2 separate regions of the Homo sapiens genome follow, and region 2 is linked to region 1. Evidence: promoter capture Hi-C in 16 types of primary human blood cells and fetal thymus (Javierre and others, 2016). All regions are on one chromosome and are shown on one strand. The core of a region is centred on a gene start or on the middle of the fragment in contact, and the rest is flanking DNA. Distances in the headings are between cores, read along the strand shown.

Region 1 (6,355 bases), core at 384-2,883:
GGAGCTACTGTGACTAGAGGTGTCTAAAATAAGGCAATCTATACATTTCTTTCCACAGCAAACTGTTTCGCTTTGTTTTTTCAACCTTAAAATGATCATGTTTCTTCATTTTTCTACCCATTCACCAGATACAGGCGACAAAGTATATTGTATAGGTAATACCGGAAACAACAAGAACACTATTTCGCTGTAGAATGAAGCAGGGGGAAATGCTAATAACGTCAACCTTAATATATATAGTGAAATTTCAAATATTTTCTTTTCTCTTTAGACAGAAAACCCAGGAAAAGGCCCATACACGTACCCTAAACGTTGGACTACCTAGTGATTTCAGGGAAGATTTTGTCTTTCAATATACCGAAGGACATCTTATCGTACGTCTATTGGCATAACTACCGATCAGCTCCTCCACATGGAAAAAGATGAAGAGGGGGACAAAAAAGTTTGGCTTACTTGGTGTACAAATACATCGACTGGAATATCCAAGGGGCTTCCCTCTCGGTTTATCATGGAGATGAATCCAAATCCCATGCGCACATTGAACCACTTACAGTGGCCAGTTCCGCGCAAAACCTGGGATTCCTCCTCTGCCGGCTCCGGCAGCTTCCCGGGCTCTTCTCCACCACCTTTGCTAGCCCCGCCTGAGAAGGAACAGGACAAAAAAGTCAGTCTGTATTCCCATTCAATGTGCATTCAAAGATTAAAAAAAAAAAATTGCCTGCCTGGGGTTGGGGGGGAAGGGTAACAGAAAAAAAAAATTTTTTTTAATGGTTTGATTTCTTTTCTCCACAGAAAATACTTAAAATGAAAAGGGTTAAAAGGAAAGCGGGGGAGGGGGAAGCCACACTGTTCTATCGATCACACCAACTTCCACGTTTCTATACATACGTGTACTTATTCATTTAACTCCATTTTTCAGCCACATTTTACATTACAGCATGCGATACTTTACTTGTATATTGCTGATTTAATACTGATCCCATTGACAAAGAGAAATTTTCAGCGAAACTATTCTCTCCGGCGGGCACGAGGAGGAAAGAGAAATCGTGAAGATGGTTTAGAGCTACTAGTTAAGGCACATGGGGCAGCACTGAATCCAGCGTTATTTGCAATGTGCATTCCCCTCCCCCCCATAACTTTCAATTAAAGTTGGGGTGGAATGGGGGAGGGGGCAGGTGTATAAAAGTTTTCTTGGAATCACTAACTGAAACTGCGCTTAATCACACTCACACAATTCAAACAATAGCCCCCTGAAAGCTTTTCAAGTTGTGAATCAGTGTGGGCGGTACAAAACATTTTTGGAGATCTATAACAATAGGTTTGCAGAAAGCCCCACTGCGTGATGGGGGGTTGGGAGGTAATGCCCAGTATTGGGGTAAAAGGGGAAGGGGGGGACGGTCTAAGAAGGGTGGGAGAGGGGGAGGGGGAGGAGAAAAGAAGAAAGAAATTCACAGTAAAACAATAGAAAAGAAAATTAACCTTCGGCCATGTTGCCCCACGGGCCCTCAGCTCCAAACTCGTGAGATGAAAACTTTCCCTTTGGAACGGAGTGATCTTCTGCATCAATCTAACATCTTGATTTTGTGCGATCACAAATTTAGCTCGCATGGTCTAATGTGCTTTCCTTCTTTTGATTTTTTTCTCTCCTCTCTCCAGTTTCTGGCCCCCTGAGCACACGTGACTTTGTCAATTACATGCTTTCTTGCTACTAATTTCACCTCGTATCCTTAAGGGGCTGGCAAGAGGAAGAGATAACCAATCGCCATTTCATCTATGCTGACATCAAAATAATTTATGAATGAACACGAAAAACTCAAACATGTTATCTTAAAGACAATTTGGAACGCTTCTTTAGGATAAATCAGAATGCTGATTTCGTGCTTCTACTTAAACACAATGGAGGGACCTTGTGAATCATAGATTTAGAAAAAAAGGCAGTCATATATGTGCACACGCGTGCCTTACACACAAGCCTGACTAAAATCATGGGAGGGGGTCGTTTAAATAAAACAACCGATGTTAACGCTTTTTTTCCCCTTAAGAATTCAGCTATTCCATGGCAGTAAACCTGCTTGGAACGCTAATTTCATATTTAATTCAATTCTTAGAGGAAAATATATAATTTATAAAAGATCTAATTAAACCTAATTACATCCCCATGAAACTTTAGATAATGAAAACATACACCTAGGAAAAGGCAGAGGCACATAAATTACCTGATTATGCCCGAAATTTTTTCAAATTTAAAATAAAATCCTACTAGAAAAATCGTTTTCACCTTCATATAGTCAAATTGTGTTTAGGTAAACCATTTTGGAAAATTTTAGAGGGGGTTGGTAAGGAATTGTACTTCACAGGTTTCTCTGCCATCTCTTTCCGGGGGAGGAGATGTGATTAATGACTTCCTAAATAACAGCCCAGTTTTCCAGCCTAACATAGAGTGAACCTCAATCAGTGGCGATTGTTCCCCAAGAGCTGGAGGACATAGGGCAGGAGGGGGAGGGGATCGCCAGGCAGGGGAGGTGAAGAGGAGCCGCCAGGATAGGCGGCAGCAGAGTCAAAGAAAGAGGTGGGAGAGAAAAAAAGCCGGCGCGGGCAGGGGGTGGGGTGGAGAAAGAAGGACAAGTGGGAGAAAAAAGGTAAATTCATATCATATTGACTTGTACCCTGACATTTTAAAAGTCCACTACCAATGGCTAGAAGAGTTGAATAAACGAAAATGTAACAACGGATGAAGCTCCTACTGTCCTTCCTCAACTGACCCCCAGTTTCAAAATGCCTACCCCCTTTACCTTTCAAACTGGTTCAAACGATTGATTACAAGATGCTGGCAACAGTATTTCTGCCCTTATCGAATACTATAATAAATATTATAGATTAACTAAAAAGACTTTATTTCCTTTAAAATATAAAATATCGCTATTTTAAAACCTTAAAATGCACCACCAGACTTGCCTACCCCACCCCCCATTTTCTTAAACAAGCAGTTTACCAAGAAACTAACTGTTCAGATACCACTTCCTTCGACAAAGCTACCGAGTTGACCCTCCCCCACCATGCCAGCAATCCCCCTCCCAGTCTCTTCAAACACATCCACACTCCAGCACTGTTTCACACAAGCTAAAATGTAGGGATTATGAATCGAAGAGCTATGGAAAAAGCTGTATACACCTATTTATACTCCCTCCCCATATTAAACAACTAAATATAAATTTAATTGGCTCAGATTGGAAAATGGATGTATAAAAAATAGAAGTTATTTTCAGCTGTTTTTGATAAAAGGTTTAATGAAAACTAATCAATTTGGAAAGATTTTTTTTTTTGTCTGTTATTCCTTTTGTTATTTCTCAGGAAAAAGGGCTACTTTCTCATTTTATTTATTTTGGGAGGAATAATCCTGTGCCAGCTGTTAGGGAGAAAAGAAAAGGTGCAAAAATCCAATGACTTTGAAAGTTTAACAAAAGCTCAAAGCTCTGAAAAAATTATTTACTAACAAAACATTTACTAGGCATTATTTTGATGGTAGAAATTACTTCTATTATACTGATTACACTGACAAGAAAGTAATCTCAATGATGGCATTACAGGCTAAGCTTGTGACATAATATGAAATCGAGAAAGTAATTTATATTTTTTCATATTTTAATAATCACTTTAAAAAATCAACATCTGGTATAAGAGGAAAAAAATCTCAGAAAGTATTCATGTAAATTGAGGTGAAATGCTATTACTTACATAAAAGTAATGATCACAAAATTCACAGGCCAGTATAGTTTAGCTTTGTAAAATATTCATTTAAGTTTGCTTTTAATTAGAAAACAGTTTAATCATTATAAAACCAGAAGCATAATAATGTAGGTAGATTCAGAATCTGTTTATTGTTAAATTTGATGAAATTCAAATTTATGAACATGTGGGTGAAAAGTGGAATACCATAACTGAACTACACTGTACAGTATAGTTATGAGATTCACAGTCTTGCCTGATTGGGGGCCTCCAGTATTAGTGGAATTAAGGTAAGGTTCACTGGAGTGGTCACTGGTGTCAGAGGTTATCGACTCATTCATTTCCTGAGAGGGACATCAGCCTTTCAAGTTGTGTAGAAGGCTTTTTCCAACTGGTAACCCTGAAAAATCCTCTAAAATTCGTTCATGAAGAATTTAAGACAAATGCATTTACATACCTTGGGGGAGGGTAAAAGAAAGGGGAAGAGAAGAGGCGAGGGAAGGGTAGAGGGAAAAGGAAGAAGAAAGCAAGGAAGTTGGAAAGGGAGAGAAGTAAAGGAAGGAGACACATTGAGAAACACAAAATAATCACTCACCAATTTAAGAATATGGCACTGTTTTTTCTGTGCCTTCCCCCAAAACTTTTGAGCCTAAAATCCTTTTATAATATAAATTGCCCATAAGCTTTTAAAGCTCCTAGAGTGCTTCTTTCACAGAAAGTCGTCCTATGAGTCTTCTAGAATGCTTTCCAATTTGTCACTTTCCTGAAGTCTTCTGGTTTTAATTTTTTTCTCATTTCCTACTTGGTTTTAGTGCCTGAAAGACCTGTGTTTGACTCAAAAGGGGTGTTTTATTCCTGCAAAAGCCAAATACTTTATAGCTTGACTTATAGTTCTTTCAAAATGTCTTTAAAATGAGTTCAAGTAGCTACAAAGAATCGTCAATGTACTGGGGGGAAAAAGCAAGGAAATAACCTACCATATGCCTGTTGGCTATCACAATCATCCCCATTTAAAAAACAAGGTACACGTTTTCCCAGACTTTTTTTCCAACAGTACAAGGAGCCGAAAGAGGTGCCAGAGCCCACCGTCGTTGTTTTCAATTATAAGGAATGAGTGACTTCTGTTAAAGCAGAAACAATGCTTCGGTTCTTCTTAAAACTAGGAGGAGGGGCTGTGGCAATGCGGCAAGTGACTCCACCCGTCCTCTCCTCCCCGCAAATAAGGCGGGGTCTGTAGCCCAGCGCTGCCATCGCAACCCGCCTCTCCAGGCAGGTCGCTCCCCAGGCGGCCGAGACCTGAGACCCCAGACCCCGCGCCAGCAGATCTGCGCTTTCCCTCCACCTCCTGCCTCTGCAGCTTCCTCTCACCTTTCTTTCCTCAGTCACTTTTCCCTTTATTCGTCACTTTACCATCTCCTCTCCCTAAGTGGGGTAGATCCAAAGGCTGGTGATTTCTCACTAATTTAGGGACTTTTACATTTGTCATCTTGTCCCCAAGAACACCAAACAAAAGAAATCCCTGCCTTCACTACTATGGCAAAAACACTACGCACAACCTACTATTTTTACTGAATTTCCAGACGTATATCACTTATAATTTGATCCCTTTTCCTATGAGATGCCAGAATCTCCTAAAGCTAAGATAAGTGCGGTCAAAGAGAGGGAATCCGAACCCAAGAAAATGAGCACCCCCACCCCCACCGGGCCATGCCTAAAACTGAGCTGTCTTCCAGCAAACCCGGCGCCGTCCTTTCGGGAAGCCGCGATGGCAAACGTCGCCCTGGGCCTTCGGAGGATCAAGAAAAAACGTCGGCGAGAAAGGGCTGGACGCAAGGCTGGGGGCGATTTTCGGGATCTCTCTCTGCCCCTGGCAAGATCTCTCCCGCCTGAAAGCCGCCGACCCGCCCGTCGGGCAAACTGTCCTGATTCCTTCCGCCGCGTTTTGGTAAACCACTTGGCGGTAACTTTCTTGACATTCCTACGACATGGAGACAAATGCAAGGCGCGCCCGACTGGGTGCTTGGGTCTTGCAGCAGAGGCACTTCAGAATATAGTTGGGTCGCTTTGCTTTTGTTTCCAAAAAGCAAAATTCTATTCTCATTTAATTTCCTTGTCTGGAGGCAAAATGCTCTGGCTTCACACAATTGGTCCAACGTTAGAATTTTTATACAGAGGTAAAAATCTCTCGAGACTTTCATTAAATACCTTAACACACTTTCCCCAGAATAATAAAGTAAAATTATGGAAATACAGAAACGGATTAGCATAAATTTTAAGTTTTCCACACAAATTGCCTTTATATTTCAAAATTTGCCTTTATATTTCAAAATTTCCCTTTACATTTCAAAATTTGCAAATGCTTCCTTCTTTTTGGTCAGTTATGTTTCAGCAAAATATTTACAACAAAATTCAGAAAAGGAGCATTATTTTAAGACTAACATTCTGAAGAAAGAATTTTTTAACTTTTTTTAAAAATTATACATAATAGCTGTAGAAAGTATCTTTTTAAAAACCTGGAATAGCAAAAATCCTATTACATTAACATACTTCTCTCCCAATAAGCAGGAAAAATATTTTCCAAACTGTGCTCAACAAATACTTTCTTAAATTACTTTAATTAGAATAGTAA
Region 2 (6,113 bases), core at 1,492-3,991, 100 kb before region 1:
TGGTCTTAAATGAGATACATATTTTAAAATGTTTTGTTAATTATAAACCTCCATATATAAATGGTAGGTGAAATTTCTCCACTAGTGTTAAGACAATTCATGGTAGATGAATTGAAGCCCTCATGAACTGGGGGGTGGGGGTGGGGGGAGCGAGAGCAAAAATAAATAGCAGAAGAAGCTTAAAATATTTTTCTCTTTACAAGAATGCTAAAGAGATCAAACTAAATAGCCCAATAATGATACAATATATATATCTTATGAATGCTCTATAATTAATTTCTATTTTCCATTCCTTTTATACTGGAATTTTCTTGACCATCTCCTACTGTTCCATTTTGATTAGATATTAGTAAATTAATTTGCTTTGTTGCAGATGCCATGCATTTCTTCCTGTATGTAGTTCACTGTCTAAATATTTAATATTTTTCTGCTTCACCCCTTGGAGTCCCTAAAAATCAAATTGCAGGGTAACTTAGTTCATATAAATTCTATCAGAAAATTTGCAGATAAAGGAAATGATAAAGTAGACTATCTTTGTGTAGTACAGTTTTAAGTACTGGGAATTTGCTGACTATTCCTATATTCTAGGGACTGTTCTTTCATCTGGTTTTCAGAATATTAAAGTGGTTTTCTTTCTACCTTACTGATATAATTTTCCTATCTTGTTCTCAGTACCTTTCTAGAGTCACCAAGATCTATACTTATATTTGTCTACCAACTCCCTTTTGAAAAATTAATCAACTTCCTATATACAAACTACTTTCTTTACTCTGATCACTCACAAATTATTCCCACTTTTATGTTTTCTTGTAATCTCAAACTCAACTCATCTCTTCAAGGTCATTTTGACCCAACCCTAGTTTCCAAATCTCTTCCAATAAGTTCTACATTTATCATTGCATTCACAGTGTTTACTGGTATAATACCTGGTTGGCTCAAAGAAATGGAAAAAGCACTATTGAAAAAGTCACTATATTTTGGGCTTTAAAACATCATGCTTACTGGAAGTCAACTCTCCTAAACCCATGAAGTCATCTCAGCTTCCTGTCTATTTGGGAGTAGATTCCTGATCTCTAGCCTTCATGCCATGTCACAGATCGGTCACTGTAACTGATACTCCAGGTGCATCTATCAGTCTGCTCATACCACTCAGTCACCAACCACTGTGACCCTATTTATATTACTGTGGATAATATAAATGAAACGAACAAACAAAAAATTAATTATAGGTCAAGCACAGTGGCTCACTCCTATAATCTCAACAACTTTGGGAGGCAGAGGTGGGCAGATCGCTTGAGCCCAGTAGGTTGAGGCTGCAGTGAGCCATGATCACACCACTGCACTCCAGCCTGGGCAAAAAGGCGAGACCCTATCTCAACAAAGAAACAAACAAACAAAAAAATGAATTAGCAAATCAGTCACCTTCACCTTGTATTATTAAAAAACAGAGTAAAAGGCTGGGCACGGTGGCTCACGCCTGTAATCCCAGCACTTTGGGAGGCCAAGGCAGGCGGATCACCTGAGGTTGGGAGTTCAAGACCAGCCTGACCAACATGGAGAAGCCCTGTCTCTACTAAAAATACAAAATTAGCCAGCCATGGTGGTGCATGTCTGTAATCTCAGCTACTCGGGAGGCTGAGGCAGGAGAATCGCTTGAACCTGGGAGGCGGAGGTTGTGGTGAGTTGAGATTGCACCATTGCACTCCAGCCTGGGCAACAAGAGCCAAACTCCATCTTAAAAAAAAAAAAATACAGTAACATGAGAATAAAGAAAATGAAAAGGGAAAATATTGTAAGATGCTGGAATGTAAGGATGAAAAAAGAATATTTAGTACTAAAGGGCAGCATCATTAAAGTGGAAGAAATGCAAAATGACTAGTGTCAAATGCAATAAAAACATGAATTCCTATTTGCCATACTTTTTGGGCCAAATAGTATTGTCATACATTTTAGTAATATTTCAGAGTAACGGGCACCCACTGAGCTATAATGTAACTCTATGGCAGAAGCTTCATCTTTTGGGCAAAACTACTGCACAGTTCAATTTCCCTTTATCTAATCAATTTTTTGTCAAATCTTACTAAGCTTCACTTACCACTATAATGATTTTTCAATAAAATAGTAATGGAAAAACTACAAGTTAACCACATGTGGATGTGCATCTCTGGAGACACAGCGAGTCTGAAACTTGAAGAGATGCTAAGGTTGAAGTCACAGACTTGGGAGACATCACTGAAAGAACAGACAGTAGCTAAAGCTCAGAGGTCACCTAGCAAAATGTGAAGAGTGAAACAAGAACTGCAGCCAAAGCTTTCAGGAAATCCACTATTTAATAACTTTCAGGTGGAGGAACCAGTTAGGCTTTCTAAGAAGGAACAGCCAGAAAAGTAGAAGGAAGACAAGAAAAGAGATACTTCTCCCTAGTTTAAAAAAAAAAATACATATATATATACACACACACACACAACATACAGTTTCGCATTCAAGAAAGGGGCTAATAGATCAAACAAGATGAGGTATTAAAATAGACTGCTGGATTTAGCAAGTAGGAGATAGTAAGAGGCCACAGATAGAACATAAAACGAATACAAAAGAATTAAGGAACTAAAATTAAACCATAGCGCCAGTATCAAACTTCCTCAAAGTCTGACAAGCATATCTTAGGAAACAGATCTTCCTAGGGGACTCATTTCCTCAGAAAAGCAGCCCTTTCCAAAGCCATGTACTATATATTCTTTTGAAAATCACCAGAGTCCAATAGAAAAACAGACAATGGACGTGAACAGGTAATTCACAAAAAGAGAAAGAAAAATGGCACAAATACCTTTAAAATACCCACAGGAGCAAAAGTGCAAATTTTAAAAAGCAACAACCATACATTAAAATGACATTATATATAACATAATTACATTACATACAAAAATACACTTCATTTCCTTCAAAGTAGCATATAAAATATTCTGAACAACCATACCACTGAAAAACAACTAAAAATGCTGGAAAAATATTCTAAAGCATCCTTTGAACTGCTTTGCTGATGGCACTGAAAAGTCAGTGATGCTTAGAAGCCAAAAACAAAGTGAAAGCAGAAAACTAGGGAGGTCAGTGGAGCACTGAAATAGCCTCTCATTCTGGAGACATCTACAGAACACTAGCAACAATCTGAAGCTTTCATCTTGTAAACTGGTTGATGCAGCAGAGGAGTTAGAAAACAAAGCCTAAGATCTGTCCAGAATTAGGAGTCTAACAGGAGATCCTGTCCCACAGAAAGCTGGAAACCCTGCCCAAAACTATACTCAGAATGTAAAGACCAATGAAAAGTAGTTACCTCAAAGAAGGGAAAAGGCAAGATAACTTTTCTGCTCCCAACTATGTGGTGGGAGGAAGAGAAAACGATCTCCCCCTTGAGAACTGATATCACAAGCCAGATGCTATATGGTGTTGCAGCTCATGTGGGGCTACAACTCAAGCTGAGAATTTCTTTTTAAATGGTTCCCAGTTGGTACAAGTACCTCTAGGAACATGATAAAATAAACACATACCCTCCTCAGAGAAAATGCACCGTCAAGCCAGGAGTCAAAAAATTCCTGTAGACAAAAGTTCAAGAAATATGAATTTCTGGTTAAAAAAATCATAAAAGACAAAATAATTAAATAAATAAGGGACCATGAGCTGCATACAGCCAGTAGAATTAGATCCAAAACGTTCAGATATTGAATTGCTCAGATTCAGACTATAAAATAAGTATGTTTTAACTTGTTTAAAGCAACACTTCTTAACACTACTAGGTCAATATTTCCTTTTTATACTAAGTATTTTTGTAATGCCCCTATTCTTATACTGAAATAAACTTAAAGTAATGTAATCTCTATATACATATAATTTAAACTATCTATATTCCTTAACCATAATATATAGAAAAAAGTAATTTATAGTAAACTAATACATACTTCAATTTTAAAATATAGTGGTAAAACTACACAATAATACAATAAAATATCAATGCTTGTACTTGTCTATGATAAATAAATTGGCTTTAAGCCATTCCATACAAGTAAAAGAAATGAAAGAAGAGGTACACGGGGATACTAAGATAAAAATTATACTGAGTAATATACATATACAGAAAGAGGAAGAAAAATCACCTTGATTGAAGCAGCATAACATGTCAAGGCAAATTAAACACTCAACACTGCAAAAATGAGAAATACAACACTCTTCAAATGAGCTGCATGTTAGGTATAAGTGTAGGAGCCAAATAATTTCCTATGCTGTCAGATGGCAGATGATAGTGATGATGTGTAGCAGAAAACATGCCACATATATTTTAATTCAACCTCATGCTGAGACATAAATTCAGTGTCACGTATATAAAAAGACCTTAGAGACCAGATCCTTTAATAGGTGATGGGGAATAGCTGATGGATTGGAAAACAAAAACTAATACAAGAGGTTATAAAGAAATTATCTCTGGAAATGGTACCACAGTTAGGCTGTAAAACAACATGCAACCCCAAAATAAATTTCTACATGTAATTTTTATAGTATAGATATTTTATCTCTGCATTACAAAAAAAGTTATGAATACTGTATATAGGTTCAGTGGGCTTCTGAATATGATAGACTTATTAGACTTACTCTTCTGTGGTCTACAGCTATAACAATGGGAAAGATATAAGACGCAACTGTTTATTGTCACTGGATAGGACAATAAGTAGTAAAAAACTGTAGCGCTTGATAGAATGGAAACACTCAAAGTAAGCCCAGATGTTTGCCCCAGCTTTCTGCCTGGGTAGACTTTTGGGACTAAGGGGCAAGAAGACAATGAAACACAAGCACAGCAGGATCTCAGTGAGCCATAAAGGCATAAATTTCAGCTCAGAGTTTCTAAAGCAGTTGGAATTCTTGGGACAGGATACTGGAGAGAAGAGATCTGTGCAAATCCTGTACCTTTCCCTCCTTATTCGTAATTAAGGGCCAGGTTGCATGTGTGCAGCACAGGTTGAGACCCTTCAAAACACAGCAGCAGACTTTGTTGTTTGGCAGAGAGATAAGCAAAAATATCCAAGGCCACAAAATGCTGGGAGATACTGGAGTTCTGGCCTGGCCAGAAGTCAAGAAACCACAATGGATTTCAAATCGAGAAACACAGGCATTTCACTTGAGATCCTAGTAAACTCATGCCTTAGGAATAAGGATCATACTCTATGTACCCTAGGACTGCATCCTAGGACTAAGCAAAACATGAAAATAGATCTACCATAATCTAAAATAAAAACAAAATTGGCAAAAGCAAAAACTGTCTACCAGAACAAAAGTCAACATCTTGTAGAGAAAACAAATGACCCGGACTCCCTACAATCTATCAGCCCAATATTCTACATACAATAAAAAAATTACTACGCATGAAAAGAAGCAGGAAAAAGTGACCCATATTTAAGGAAAAAAGTAGTCAAGATCTTAAAAAGACCCAAATGTTGGAAATAGCAGGAAATAACTCAAAATCGCTATCATAAATATGTTCAACAACTTAAAAGAAAAGATGGACATAATGAATGAACAAATGAGGAATAGTGGTAGAAAAAAATAAAAACAGAGGCTGGGCACAGTGGCTCATGCTTGTAATCCCAGCACCTTGGGAGGCCAAGGTGGAAGGACTGCTTGAGCCCAGGAGTTCAGTCCAGCCTGGGCAACATGGCAAAATCCAGTCTCTACCCAAAAAAAAAAAAAAAAAAAAAGCCAGGCATGGTGGCGTGCACATACTCAGGAGGCTGAGATGGGAGGACTGCTTGAACCTGGGAGGCTGAGGCTGCAGTGAGCCATGATCATGCCACTGCACTCCGGCCTGGGCTGGAAGGAAGACCCTGTCTGAAGGGTGGAGGGAAGGAAGAAAGACAGACTATTAAAACAACAACAACAACCAGGAATATTAGAGCTGAAAACTACAATATCTAAAATGAAAATATTCATGGATTGAATAACAGTAACTTAGAAACTGAAGAAAAATTTAGCGAACTTAAAAAGCAGATTATAAGGAAATAGCACAAACTGAATCAAAGAAAATAAAGAAATATGAATATAATAAATATGAAGATATTTTTGCTTATCTCTCT

What was found. Contacts are between HindIII fragments. The CHiCAGO score rates a contact against its expected background, and 5 or more counts as called.
Region 2: a contact is called between a fragment that was not itself captured here and the fragment with the promoter of LIN28B in region 1, in 1 of 17 cell types (megakaryocytes). The highest score is 7.6, in megakaryocytes.

The regions. Positions count from the first base shown.
Region 1 is chr6:104,952,385-104,958,739 of GRCh38, reverse strand. It overlaps LIN28B (lin-28 RNA binding posttranscriptional regulator B), which reads right to left and starts at 1,633. Exons shown (of 4, transcript NM_001004317.4): 1 at 1,480-1,633; 2 at 454-641. The coding sequence starts at 1,489. RefSeq lists enhancers at 745-1,682, 1,683-2,620. The HindIII fragment of the contact is 2,336 bases long and covers 1,260-3,595 here.
Region 2 is chr6:105,055,545-105,061,657 of GRCh38, reverse strand. The region is part of intron 3 of LIN28B (lin-28 RNA binding posttranscriptional regulator B); the gene reads right to left. Among named protein-coding and RNA genes, the nearest start is that of POPDC1, 79 kb to the left of the region's middle. The HindIII fragment of the contact is 858 bases long and covers 2,313-3,170 here.